Linked DNA regions of Homo sapiens: region 2 is linked to region 1. Evidence: promoter capture Hi-C in human tissues and cell types (Jung and others, 2019). All regions are on one chromosome and are shown on one strand. The core of a region is centred on a gene start or on the middle of the fragment in contact, and the rest is flanking DNA. Distances in the headings are between cores, read along the strand shown.

Evidence for each region. Contacts are between HindIII fragments. The study calls those that stand out against the background at their distance.
Region 2: a fragment that was not itself captured here is called in contact with the fragment with the promoter of SCGB1D1 in region 1 in 1 of the 25 tissues and cell types used here (H1 embryonic stem cells).

Annotation. Positions count from the first base shown.
Region 1 is chr11:62,186,572-62,193,746 of GRCh38, forward strand. It overlaps SCGB1D1 (secretoglobin family 1D member 1), which reads left to right and starts at 3,645. Exons shown (of 3, transcript NM_006552.2): 1 at 3,645-3,768; 2 at 5,485-5,672; 3 at 6,828-6,968. The coding sequence starts at 3,714. The coding sequence ends at 6,857. RefSeq lists an enhancer at 5,699-6,199. The HindIII fragment of the contact is 12,490 bases long and covers 1-5,055 here.
Region 2 is chr11:62,224,516-62,231,690 of GRCh38, forward strand. No RefSeq gene overlaps it. Among named protein-coding and RNA genes, the nearest start is that of SCGB1D2, 14 kb to the right of the region's middle. The HindIII fragment of the contact is 5,846 bases long and covers 1,644-7,175 here.

The DNA of each region.
Region 1 (7,175 bases), core at 2,395-4,894:
CAATTTATGTTCATGGATTTATCTTTTATATGAATTTTGCCCTTTGTTTGAAGAGAATATTGTTAACATCATGTTTCTCTCCATACAATTTTTTTAATTTAAATAGACAAATAATAATTGTATATATATATTTTTCTTTAATTTTTTTTTTGAGACAGAGTCTCATTCTGTCATCCAGGCTGGAGTGCAGTGGTATGATCTTGGCTCACTGCAACCTCCGCCTCCCAGGTTCAAGCCATTCTCTTGCCTCAGCCTCCCAAGCAGCTGGGATTACAGACACCCAGCACCAAACCTAGTTAATTTTTGTATTTTTAGTAGAGACAAGGTTTTGCTATGTTGGTCAGGCTGGTCTCAAACTCCTGACCTCAGGTAATCTGCCCACCTCAGTCTCCCAAAGTGCTGTGATTATAGGCACGAGCCACTGAGCCTGACCTAAACTTGTATATTTTTATGGCATACAATATAATGTTTTGATGTATGTTTACAATACACACATCAAATACAATCAAATTAATTAACAAATCCATCACTTCACATACTTTTTTTTGCATTAAAAACGTTTATTTTATTTTATTTCATGTTTTTAGAGACAAATTCTTGCTCTGTTGCCCAGGCTGGAGTGCAGTGGCATAATCAGGGCTCACTGTAGCCTGAAACTCCTGGGCTCATGCAATCCTCCCACCTCAACCTCTTTAGTGGCTGTGAATACAGGCACCCACCACCATGCCTGGCTAATTTTTAAAATTGTTTATAGAGACAAGGTCTTGTATGTTGCCCAGGCTGGTCTCGAACTCCTGGCCTCAAATGATCCACCTGCCTTGGCCTCCCAAAGCGCTGGGATTACAGGTGTGAGCCACCATGCCCGGCCAAAATGAGAAGATCTTAAGCCAACCAGGGAAGGAGTAGAGCAGTCATCAAAAGTACCACCTATGAAAACTAGAAAAAGCCCCGAGCAGATGTTAAGAGCTACAGGAATGATAAAAATATGTGGGAAGCAATCCTCTTTCAGATATACACATCCTTCCTAATGGAATATACAGATGAAGGCCAAGCCCACATCAGGAAAGCTCTGTTCAACAGCTATGGAAAATTCCTCACCCATCTGTCATCTGTAAGAACCTAAATTCGTGTCCCTGGGTCTGCAGTCTCAGAGACCATGAGCTGGGTTTCCTCCATTTATTTCAGATAGTGGGGGTGTATCCAGGTTTCCTTAGACAGTTGTGTGTCACTTAGTGACTGGGACACATTCTGAGAAATGCATAGGCAATTGTCATTGTGTGAACATCATAAAATGCAGTTATACAAACCTAGATGGCATAGCCTACTGCACACCTCAGCTATTAATAGGTAAGCCTGTTGCTCCTGGACCACAAACCTGTACAGCATATTACTGTTCTGAACACTGTAGGCAGTTGTAATACAATGACAAGTATTTGTGTATCTAAACATATCAAAACAGAAAAGGTGCAGTAAAAACACAGTATTATAATTTTAGGGGACCCCTGTTGTATGTGGGGTCTGATATTAACTAATATGTCCTTATGTGGCCCATGAATTGTAGTTCTGAAAATCAGTGATTTTTTTTTTTGAGGGGTTGGCTGTGCTTTAAACTAGGAACTGGTAATGATCCATGAAATGTATGACAGGTGGGACAAGGTAATAGTAGTCAACATTTATTGAGCGTTTACTACATGTCAGACCTTGTTAATTTTTTTTTCTTTTTTGAGATGGAGTTTTGCTCTTGTTGCCCAGGCTGGAGTGCAGTGGTGCCATCTCAGCTCACCACAACTCTGCCTCCCTTGTTCAAGAGATTCTCCTGCCTCAGTCTCCTGAGTAGCTGGGACTATAGGCACATGCCACCACACCCAGCTAATTTTTTGTATTTTTAGTAGAGACGGGGTTTCACCATGTTGGCCAGACTGGTCTCAACCTCCTGACCTCAGGTGATCCACCCGCCTCGGCCTCCCAAAGTGCTGGGATTATAAGTGTGAGCCACTGCGCCTGGCCAGACCTGGTAAATTTTACACACACACACACACACACACACTCATTTGAACATCTATCAACCCAATGATGTAGGCACCATTTTTAACCTACTTTTACAAACGAGAAAACTGTGTTTACATAAACTAATTTTCAGAGGGTTCAATAGCCCATAGACATGGATCTGAACCCTCCTAGCCATGGGCTTTGCCACTGGACCTTCCACTCCTTAGGGTTGGAGGCAGAGGTGGCATCAGGGGCTTCCCCACCATTTTGGGTGATGGAAGTGAGAGGCATTGTCGCCCTCAGCTGGGACTCAGCCAGACCTGCCAAGGTGTCTCTGATGACACAGACCATAAGGTCCGCTTCCTTCATAAAGGTCTTTCTGGGTGGTTCTCAGTACTGCTGCCCATCAGACCCACCAGAGCAGTTTAAACAGAAGAGGACCTCGCCCTAGAACTACTGAATCAAAATCCCCAGAAAGGGAAGCAGCCTGCGGGGAGTCAGTATAGTTTAAGAGCCCCAAGTGATTTGATTGCAGAGCAGAGAATGGAAAGCTCTGGCCTGGGCTGTGACTGTTCTCAAATGTGTGTTCACTTAAGAGCCAAATTTCTGGTGATTTCCTACTCACCAAATGATGGCACTGCAGTGGAAGGGCAGAAGGGTGTCTATTGCTTTTGCTGGGGATGGCCTTCGCTTTCCATCAACAATGAGATGACCCAGGCAGCAGAGCTGGGTTAGAAGTGGAAAACTTGAGCCCAGAGGTTAGAGGGAAGTGACCACCCACCCTGTTCATCCATCTCTTCCTTTCCATTATCGTCCCTGCCTAGAAGCGAAGACCAGTATTTCTGATGCCTGTTTGCCTCCAGACACCCCAGCAGCTCCTTGGGTAAAAAAAGTTGGGCAATTTAATCATCCCATCAGCCCTATGAGGAGATATGGGTGGCTAGAGGTCACTGGAGGCTTGCTTTTAGTAGACAGAAAATTTGAACCTGTGCTATGTTGACAACTCCACCCATAAATAAAGACACAGATCTTGGAGTGAGACAGAGTAGAGGACAGGGGGAGTGGTTGTTTTCCCCAAGGAAATCCTCCAAAGGTGGGGTGTATGCAGCTATGTTTTAGGTACCTATGTGGTGAAGATGGTGGGGATGGAAGGGGCTGAGTGGGAGGATAGGTCTGGTTCAGACTTGATCTATGTGCAGCTGAAACACGTGTGGCTGATTGTCAGACATGCAGTGGAGGTCAAAGTGGGGTCTCTTCTGTGCCTGCTCTCCTATAACCAAACCACAGCCCCTAGCTTCCTGCACCCCCGGTTTCTGTCCTCCTGAAATGAGAACTCACATTTGCCCTTGCACTGACATAAAGAACAGAGAGATAATCCTCAAAAGCCCAAAAGCAAACTGAGGTTCCAGGGAACATTGCCAGAGGCACCTGGACACTCACCTGGAGCACAGAGCAGAGTTTCTGCAGGGCTGCCCTCCCGTGCTCCGCCCCACTCAGGATGCAGGGAGGTGTGGGGATGTGACACTGATGGATGGCAGCAGCCCTGGCTAGGAAGGGAGGGCTGGAAGCCAGGCCTCATCACCTGCCAGATGCCCATGTGGGCAGGACCAGCCAGGCTCCCTAGGTACAAATAGCCCTGGGCTCCACGGCTCCACAGGCTCCCGGGGCTGAGTCTAAATCACTCATCATTGGTTAAAGCCGAGCTCACAGCAGAATAAGCCACCATGAGGCTGTCGGTGTGTCTCCTGCTGCTCACGCTGGCCCTTTGCTGCTACCGGGGTGAGTACATCAGTCATGAGTCCAGCACCAGCCCTTGGGACACACCCTTCTCTGAGCACGAGGTCACCTATTAAGGTTAAGGTTGGGGTCTGGAACAAACCAAAATTCCAAACCTTATCCTGTGCTTGTTGAAGGAACTGCTCATAAAGCTCGGGCCTCATTTCATCAAATCCCCAGTACCTAGGAAGTTTTGCAGAAAATCAATGCAGGCGAACGTTAGGAATTCTGCCTGAGCTTCACTCTTGGATGGGATCTGTGTCAGATGATGTAATGTGAGGTCTGGGGTGACTCTGGGCTCAGCCACTTCTCAGCCCTTTCACCGTGGGCAAGATGCTCACCCTCCCCGCGCCTCCTCCTATCTCTGGTGCTTAGAGCTTCTTCCGGGAGTGGCAATGGGAATGGAGTGGGATTATTGTGCCAAGGGTCTAGCTGTGGATGTGAAGCCAATCACTGTACTGTCAGACATTCTCGTCCCCAGACCTTTAGGTGCCAATTGAGCTCACAGCTTCTTACATTGTAAATTCAGACTCATAAAATGTTACATCTCGAAGGATCCTTGGAGAACTCTCAGTCCAAGAAGAGATGGTGCTTTCTGATTCTCTCAATAAGAAGCCTGCAAATGAATTCTTAGAATAAGCAGCACTCAATATATCTTCTAGGGGTCCTACCGTAATGGTGGTAGAAATACTACAATGGTTAGCCTCAGAACTTCTATTTTTCTAAAATTAATTCTGGCTGATTTTTCCCCAGTTCATTTGGGTACTTTCCTTTCCCCTGTCAGGACCGATCCAGACTCTGATTTTTCTCTTTCCTCTTCTTTTCTGAACCTCTCCCTGTTTCCCTGTGACACCCCGATCCTACCCTCTCCAAATTCTCCCCACAGTTTGAAGTCGGGTAGTCAGGGGTCATGTTGAGCATGGTGGGGCGCTTTCTGGATGCATGGTGTTTGCAAAAGACTTAGGTGAATGGAGATTCCAGACCAAGCAAAATGATTACTCCAGGTCTTTCCAAAATTCCCAGTGGGAGCAGGAATGAGCCTCAGTTCCCTCCTCTCATCCTCTCCAAATATTCTAGATGCTGCTGCAGAATATGGGCCAAGTACAATTTCCTGTATAAGCTTCTAATGTGTGTTAAAACTGATTCACATTATTTTATTTTGTTTTAATTTGTTTACCTTTTAGCTCTGTCTGTATTGAATCACATAAGCCTAAATTCTACAACTTGTTCTCAAAACATCACCTTCAACATTTCAATAATTTTAACTTCTTCTGTTCCAGATTTACTCATTTCTCTAATTTCTGATAGGATTCTGACTCTACCATTCCACTTCAAAATTTGATTACTCAAAGCCTCCTCTTCACCAATGTCCAAGACTAATAAAGTGTCACTTAACTGGCATAGAAAAGTGATTATTTTCAAATCTAGAAAAGAGAACGTTGGCCATCCATCCAGAGAAGCTTTGGAAAGTAATGAGTGTGCTTTAAAAAAAAAACAAAGACTGAATGAGTGATCAGGAAGTTGGTTCTCCAGTTCTAGCTCTACCCTTTGCTGTGTGACCTCAAGGAAGTCACAACCTCCTGGGTCTGACATTGTCATTGGCATAGTTATTGAATAGAAGCCTAAAACCCTGGGGTTCCTGTCTGGTCTGACATCAGGGAGGCATGGGAGAAACACTGATTTCCTTACACAAATTATATTTTTATTCTTTTGCTCCAGCAAATGCAGTGGTCTGCCAAGCTCTTGGTTCTGAAATCACAGGCTTCTTATTAGCTGGAAAACCTGTGTTCAAGTTCCAACTTGCCAAATTTAAGGCACCTCTGGAAGCTGTTGCAGCCAAGATGGAAGTGAAGAAATGCGTGGATACGATGGCCTATGAGAAAAGAGTGCTAATTACAAAAACATTGGTAATTTCTGTCTCTTTCATGTGTCCAGGCTTCTGGTCAGCGGCACAGTGTGAAGTGAGGTCAGCTTGCTTGCTGCTCTGTGAGGGACACAGGTGGTGGGGCACCTGCCTTACTGGTCACCGCTTGAGAAGGTCACCTGGGACCACAGGGTGGGTGCTACCATTTCACCTGCAGAATTCAACTCAGCTGCACACAGCCTCCTGCATGTTCCTCCTTCTCAGGTCACCTACCTGGATGCCGTGTCCCCAGAGTGTGCTGAGGACATGGGGAGTGAGCCTGGGTCCAGGCAGGGGTGGTGAAGGGCCAAGCACAACTGTCTCTCCACCTGGGGACTTTCCTGAGGCCAAGTGGACCTCACACAGTCACTGTGGAATGTACTGGGGAGTGTGGGAGCCTTGAACAGGGAGAAGAAGGCAGGGAGGGACCTAGAGCAGGGGCTCCTGCAGATGCTGCGCTGGAGGGCTGGACTTCTCTGCAGCTTCTGCAGAACCAGGAAGGAGCCCCTCCCAGCTCCTCAGACTCCACGCTCCCCTCCTCACCCACGATGCTCTCCTGACCACGGCCAGTGGGCCAAGACCCTCGCTACTCTACCTCCTGCAGTGCCATGGAAGCGGGATGTTCTCACTCTGTCTTTCTCAAGAAATCAGAGGTTTTCCAGGGGCCTCTCAGCCTGGCTGCCTCTGGGTTGCTGTCCTGAGGTTTAGCTGCAAATGCTCATGGAAGCTGCAGGCTCAGGATTGAGGTGCTCAGGCCCTGAGGCAGAATTCCCACATGGGGAGGCTGGAGTCTCCTGGAAGCCAAGCTTCCCAGAGGCCCTCCCAGCCCTGACCAACCTCTCAGCACTGGGTCTTTCATTGCGGGGAACAGGAGACTCCAAGTCCTGGGACAGCCCAGACAATAACCTCTTGCTGCTCTGCTCTGTCCCCCCTCTATGAGGACCCTGGGCCTTATGCTTGTGTCCCCCCAGGGCTATTGGCCTGGCAAGGAAAGGCTGGTCTAGGTCTAGGCCCTGGTTTCCCACACACACTGGGTTCCTGCCTCTACCCTTCAATTGTCTTTGGGAGCAGAATTCCATCGGCCACTTGGATGTTAACCTGTTGTCTCCAGGAGCTGCATGACCGACCTCACCTTCCTTTCTTTCCTTTTCTATTTCAGGGAAAAATAGCAGAGAAATGTGATCGCTGAGATGTAAAAAGTTTTTAATGCTAGTTTCCACCATCTTTCAATGATACCCTGATCTTCACTGCAGAATGTAAAGGTTTCAACGTCTTGCTCTAATAAATCACTTGCCCTGAACTTCTCCACTGGTCGTGTTATCCTGCAGTCTTGGGCCTTGAGTTGAGAGTGGTTTCCATAGGGGAGTGGCCTTTGGCTGACAATCAACTCCAGAGAACCAGCATCCCGTTATCAATGGGGCCTGAGTCCAGGCATCCCAGAAGGAAATATTTGGTAGGAATCATCCTGCATTCCTTACAGATTTTCCATCCTGCAGCCGTAAATGAA
Region 2 (7,175 bases), core at 3,317-5,816, 39 kb after region 1:
GTAATTTTCAAGCTCACATGACCTAAGTATGACTTTACTAAACAAGCTAGCTTTAAAATTATTGGTGGAATAAAAATAGAAATGCCTTCAGGGTTGTCAGCATACATTCTGTCTAAATTTTATGTTTGTCTTGGCTAGATATTTTAAAATGTCAATGTTAATTCAAGCTAGGAGCTGCTTGGGGAGAGCCTGCCTCCTATTCTATTCAAAGTCTCACTGAGATAAATGCATATCTGATTGCTTCCTTTGGAAAGTCTGATCAGAAACTCAAAAGAATGCAACCATTTGTCTCACACCTGTGATCTGAAAGGCCCCAATCCCCTTCTCTGCCTCAAGTTGTCCTGCCTTTCTGGACCAAACCAATGTATTTTACCTATGTTGATTGATATCTCCTGTCTCTCTTGTTAAAAGTAAAATTTAAGTACAATGATTGGGATAAATTTTTTAGGTAAACTTTTTGTGTAAATTAAAATCTTAAAGTTATTTTTGATGCTCATTTAATATCTGGGTCTTTCCAATTAGGAAAGCGTTGTGATAGGGAAAATATGTTTCTAAAGTTGTGGAATTATTCTTATCTATAAATGTCCATATCTGATAGTTCAGGATTTCTTGCTTTTTAGGGTTTCACTAAAGTTTTAGGTTACTAAGGATAAACATTTTAGTTAACATGTAATTGTGTATACAAAATGTGCCCAGAAAGGGTTATGTTATTAGTGGAAAAAAGAGTAATTTTGTGCAATTCAGAAATTATCTAAAAGTTAGTTCAAATTACAGACTGAAAAGGTTATTTATGAAACAATGTAGTGAGAAATCATTAAGTAGAGGAGAAAGATGTGAAAAAAGTTTAAATAATAAAACATTCTCCAAATCCTGATAGGGAATTGGAGACATTTTGCTAATTAACATTTTCATAAGTAAAGCTCTTAGTCTTAATTAAAGTTAAATAAAAAGTATTGCAAAAATGCATCAGCAGTTTGGCAATTCTCTTTTTGATATAGTTAAACATGAAGCTGGACTTAGTGTGGAGCCAAATTTCACATACATGCTTGCATTGCTTCACACTATGTCTACTGTTTTGCATGGATAGTGTTGGAGTACTTATTGGCCATGTGCTAAAAGTGGATTTCTTGATTGCTCAGAATGTATGATAATATTGGTGAACTTAAGATATTGAATTGTATATCAGAAATAAAATATTCAAGGCTGGGCATGGTGGCTCACACCTGTAATCCCAGCACTTTAGGAGGCCGAGGTGGGTGGATCACGAGGTCAGGAGTTCAAGGATCAGGCTGGTCAACATAGTGAAACCCTGTCTCTACTAACAATACAAAAAATTAGCCAGGTGTGGTGGTGGGCACCTGTAATCCCAGCTACGGGGGAGGCTGAGGCAGGAGAATCACTTGAACCTGGGAGGTGGAGGTGGAGGTTGCAGTGAGCCGAGATTGTGCCATTGCACTCCAGCCTGCGTGACGGTGTAAGACCCTGTCTCAAAAAAAAAAAAAAAAAAAAGAAGAAGAAAGAAAGAAAGTATTCATTATGTTGGTTTTTTGGGGGCCCTAGGTAACACTGTAGCCTCTAGAGTAAATTAAGTAGGAAAATTTAGGGTTGGTTTCCTGTTTATTTGTTTTGGCTTCTATTTTCATTCATTTGCTTTTTATTCTTCTCTGGTTTTGCTTGTGTCTGCATGTATATAAAACCGTGAGGCTTTTTAGTTTCCAGTGGAAGGCTTTTATTTGGTTCTGTCAATAGTTATTTTGTTTCCTATGCATTTCTAGCAAGGCATCATTCATTCCATTTATCTGGAATTCCTAAGCAACCTTTTTTGGGGTGCAGGAATTACTGGAGCACACCAGCTTTTCATCCTTAAACTAACTTTTTGGATTTTAGGCTTCCTGATACTTTAAGTGTGTTGAGTATACACTTACAAATAGAATTTAAGTCATATTTCTCTCTCTGCCTAGTTTCTCCAAAATTTGTAAACTGTCTATGAATATTTTTAATTCATGGCAATGTGTTTGTTTGCATACAGTCAAGCAGGGCTGCCAGGGCCGCTCAGGGAGAGAGAACCCAGAAACCTGGCATGCCAGCCAAAGGGTAAGAATTTCTTACCAGGCAGTCTCTGGCCTCTTTCTCTCTGTGCAAACTGGTTAATCTCCTCTGTGAAGTTTTAAATTAGTTGGTTTAATAATAATAAAACCTTAAATTAAATATTTTGTCAGAAAAGTAGAAGGTGTAATGCCTTTTAGTTCATGTGACTTTAGCAATCTTTGAGAAATAAAGATGTTTTTCAAGATTATGGGTGGCTGGGAGTGGTGGGTCACGCCTGTAATGCCAGCACTTTGGGAGGCTGAGGTGGGCAGATCACGAGGTCAAGAGATCGAGACCATCCTTGCCAACATGCTGAAACCCCATCTCTACTAAAAATACAAAAATTAGCTAGGCATGGTGGCGCATGCCTGTAGTCCCAGCTACTCGGGAGGCTGAGGCAGGAGAATCGCTTGAACCTGGGAGGTGGAGGTTGCAGTGAGCCAAGATTGCACTACTGCACTCCAGCCTGGCAACAGAGCAAGACTCCATCTCAAAAAAAAAAAAAAAAGAAAGAAAGAAAAAAAGAAAAAGATTATGGGTAAAATACAAATGTCTTCAAAATGTAAACATGTAGTCTAAATTATGTTCAAATATTAGGTTTGCTAAATGCTGTAAGGTCATAAACTGTTTCTTTGGCTTTTGAAAATTGTTTAACTTACCTGCTTTCCAGCTAGGTAAGGTCTGGGAACATGTGGAATTGGCCACACCCTAGCTATGCTGCAAATAGTCAAAACTTATCAGAATGTAATTTACCAGGTTTTACCTTAAAATTCTTCATTACAACATGAAATTAAGACCACTAGAAACAGTTTTACATGCAAGATATGTAAGTAGAATGTGTTTTTTTTTCCTTGTAAGAGGCTATAAAAGGTTTTTACATCTTTAAGATTTCTGAGTCATCATTTTGGCAAAATAAATAATTTATGGTAATCTGGAATTCCAAAATCAAACTTCAGTTTCAAAATTGTCTTTCCTAATTCCTGGCTTTCTAGATGAATCAGAGGGCCCCTGAAAACATCTTGAAAAGAGGTAAACAGGATTATTTGATGTGTTTAGGTACATGGGCCAAAATGATGTTCAATCTTCTTTAGGTTATATTTTTGTGAATAATACTAATATATATTCCTAAATTGTATGGGATTTCTAAAATTCTAATGTCTAAGTATATGCTATCAATTATAATTATGGTTATTATGTTAAGTTATTGTAAACCACAAAAATAATGAAATTTTCTTGCCAGTGTTATGTGCCTAATTTGGATAAACAACTGGTATCCAAGAGGATATAAGTCTAATGTTAACTAAACATGGACTCATGGAGAAACAGGATGGCCATCTTGTCCTTCCTGAGTCCTTAAAGCTTTTATTATTAAAACTTCTGCATTCCATGACTCATCGTGGAAAAGATATAATGATCCCAATTGAATACATTGGTAAAGTGGCTTACAAATTACTAAAATAATTTATAACCGATGCTTGATCCCATATTCCTGGGAAAACAATTAAAGCTTCAGGTACATTTGGTCGCCTGGTGGGCAACTTAAACATTTTATAAAGGGATTTCATCCCATTTTAATTTTCAGTGCATGTTTTCTGGTTGTATAAAAGCTTTCCCATGCAAGAGGGATGATGTTATAACAGTAGATTATTATGCTACAGTGTATTTTCACCAGGTAAAGAAAGCTTTTTATGGTTTGAATCTCCTGGAAACGTCAGAAAAAGACTATCCTTGCCATCCACACTACAACAAAATTTTGGGGCCTTGGGATTCGGGTTCATGGTCTCACAACTGAGAAGGGGTCCCTCCCCGCTTTTGGAACTGTGCATTCATTGGAACCCTTGAGGAAAAGCTAACCACGGAAACTTCTCCCAAGAAGAAGATGACATCCTTGATGTGAACAGCTTTTCCCAAGTTCACAGATCGAGACTTCTACTATCATGAAACTCTTATCTTTGAATTTTTTTTCTTGCTTATGCCTCTATGAACAATAGAAATGGAAAAGGGGTCTGTTATGCACCCTTATGGGGTATACTCTTATTTGTGAAGGAGTTTGCAGCCAGCCTTATACCTGGGTAATCTTATACTTTGATAGATAAAAGGTGAACGGCCAAGGTAGGTAAGAAACTTTAATGGTACACACGTTGCCTCACAATCATCAAAAACAAAACCTTGGTTCACTCCTCTTAACCCATATCATGGGTTGAAAGAGAACATTGCCAGGAGGCCTTCACACTTCCAGAAGGGTATCATTTGTTTGGTCCTTTTTATGTGGTTTAAAGTAAAAGAGACAATGATTAGAAATGTATCCCTCATGATAGGTTCCATAGCAAACTTTACTGTATAGGCCACACTTACACAACAGACTTTAAATTCTCTTCTGAAAGTTATGCTAAATAATAGAATTAGCTAACCAGAAAAGTACCTGTGCAGCTGCTGGCAATTTTGGCCTATGGGGAATTACATCAAATGAAGATTAGAGAAATTCAGTGGTAGGGGATTGATGAAGAAATTGCTTAGTCAAGAGAGTAAACTTTATCTAGCTCATTATTTGATCTATTTAATTTGAAGTGGTTTGGTTTATGGAGACCTTGGGTGAGGAGCATACTGCAAACTCTTGGTATTATCCTCCCAGTAGTCTCTCTGGTGCACTGTATTCTCTCAAAGGTTTTAAATACTTTTACTCAGCCATCTCTAGAATGTCATATGGTCTCCCTTCAACTGGAATAACAGGGGCTAAAAGAAATGTGCGACCATGAGGACCCTGTAACCTATAAATGATGTGCTGAGACCAGAAACCCAAAATAATGGTAACTGAGAGTGGCGTTAAGCCCCTAAGTTTGTGTCACACTCTCACCTAAGTGAGAACTTGTCCATAAAGGGGGAATTTTAAAAACAAAATTCTAGGGCGGTCATTGTTTTGGACTAAGGTCATGCACTAGGCCCCAACAAACCAAACCAAACCAAAATGGAGTTGCTTGTGCTAAGACTTTAAGGAAACACATAGATTCTAGAACAGACCAGGTTTTGTTTTTTCTCTTGCAAATCTCTATAATGAAAATTTCTAAGAGCGGAGGTATCTGCCCCCTGAAGTTCCCATTAAATCTTTTAACCAAATTCATTTCCTCTTGCCTAGAGACCTTCAAGCTTCAGATAATCATGCAACAAAGGTTCCAGCCAATTCCAGGTGAAGACACCGCCCCAATGCCATCAAGAAGCTACTCCACCTCCACTAGACAGAACAGGGTGAGAGTTCCATGATCCCCAAGTCAACATGAAGCAGTTACAGAAAAAAGACCATCAGTCCCTCTGCCTCCCATAAAGACTTATGGAGATCACATCCCTCACGGGGGAGATGATGCAGAAAAATAGGTTCTGGAGGCAGAGAACATAAGGCCAATTCACACTTCAGCTATGAGAGGAAATATCCTCTCCATAGGGCGTAGGCCAACTCAATGACTTTGTCATTTTACTTCATCCTCTCCATTTACATAGGGCTTACCCCAAGTAACCAATGGAATCCTCTAGCAGGTATTTAAACTCCCAAAAATTCTGTAGTGGGGCCTTTGAGCCCCTATGCTCGGGCCCACTCCCACGCTGTGGAACATACTTTCATTTTCAGTAAATCCCTTCATTCCTTGCTTGCTTTATTTGTGCGTTTTGTCCAATTCTTCATTCAAGATGCCAAGAACCTGGACACCCTCCACCATTAACAATGCCTGTAATACCAGCACTTTGGGAGGCTGAGGTGAGTGGATCGTGTGAGCCCAGGAGTTCCAGACCAGCCTGGACAACATGGCAAACCCCATCTCTACAAAAAGTACAAAAATTAGCTGGGCATGGTGGTGCATGTCTGTAGTCTCAGCTACTCAGAAGGCTGAAGCAAGAGGATCACCTGAGCCAGGGAGGTTGAGGCTGCAGTGAGCTGAAATCATGCCATTGTGCTCCAGAATGGACAATGGAGTGAGACCCTGTCTCAAAAAGAAACAAACAAATAAAAGCAAATAAAATAATTGAGATCATATAAACCATGTTCTGTGACCATAATTGAGTCAAATTAAAATCAAGAACAGGATAACAAGAAATCCTCCAATAACTTGGAAATTAAACATCTGACTACTAAACAATCAATGAGTCATTAAATACTTTCTGAAATTTGTATTAAGTATCTTTGTCTAACACTGAGATGACAGGTATAGGCGGGCAAGAACAGTGGATAAGCCCTTCTCTACTCTGGCCTCCTGCTGGGATGGTTGGGGACAATGCTCTTTCACTTCCTAGAGGGCCTCTGGTTTTTTGAGAGGACCAGAAACTGTGAAGCACAGCATTAATCTCATGCTATGAGGCCTGAGAGAGCGTCATCATCCTCTATTTACATTTTCTTCTTACAAGCAACTGTGGCTGCATTGTGATGCCTGGAATCATTACACTCTGTGATCTCCTCATCCCATTTGCATTGAGCTATACTCTCTTACAAGGGCCTGTCTTCTTTTTCTTTTCTTTTTTTTTTTTTTTTTTTTTGTGACATAGTCTTGCTCAGTTGCCCAGGCTGGAGTGCAATGGCACGATCTTGGCTCACTGCAACCTCCGCCTCCCGGGTTCAAGTGATTCTCCTGCCTCAGCCTCCCAAGTAGCTGGGATTACAAGCATGCATCACCACGCCTGGCTAATTTTGTATTTTTAGTAGACACGGGGTTTCACCATGTTGGTCAGACTGGTCTCGAACTCCTGATCTCAGGTGATCCACCTGCCTCGGCCTCCCAAAGTGCTGGGATTAGAGGCATGAATCACCACACCCTGCCAGAAGGGCCTGTCTTCTATTTCATTTTTATTCCTAGGTTTCTTTCCATCCAAAGTTAAGAGTTCATTTCCATGCTAGATCTCTGTACAACCCTTTAAGCTATGGGTGTCTTTATGTGTGAAATGGGGCTCTTGAAGAGAGCAGATGAATGGGTCTTTTTTTTAAATCCAACTTGCAACTCTGTGCATTTTAAGTGGGATGTTTAGACCATTTACATTCAAGGTTGATATTGATATGTGTAGTTTTGATCCTATCATGAAGTTGTTAGCTGGTTACTTTGTATTTTCTA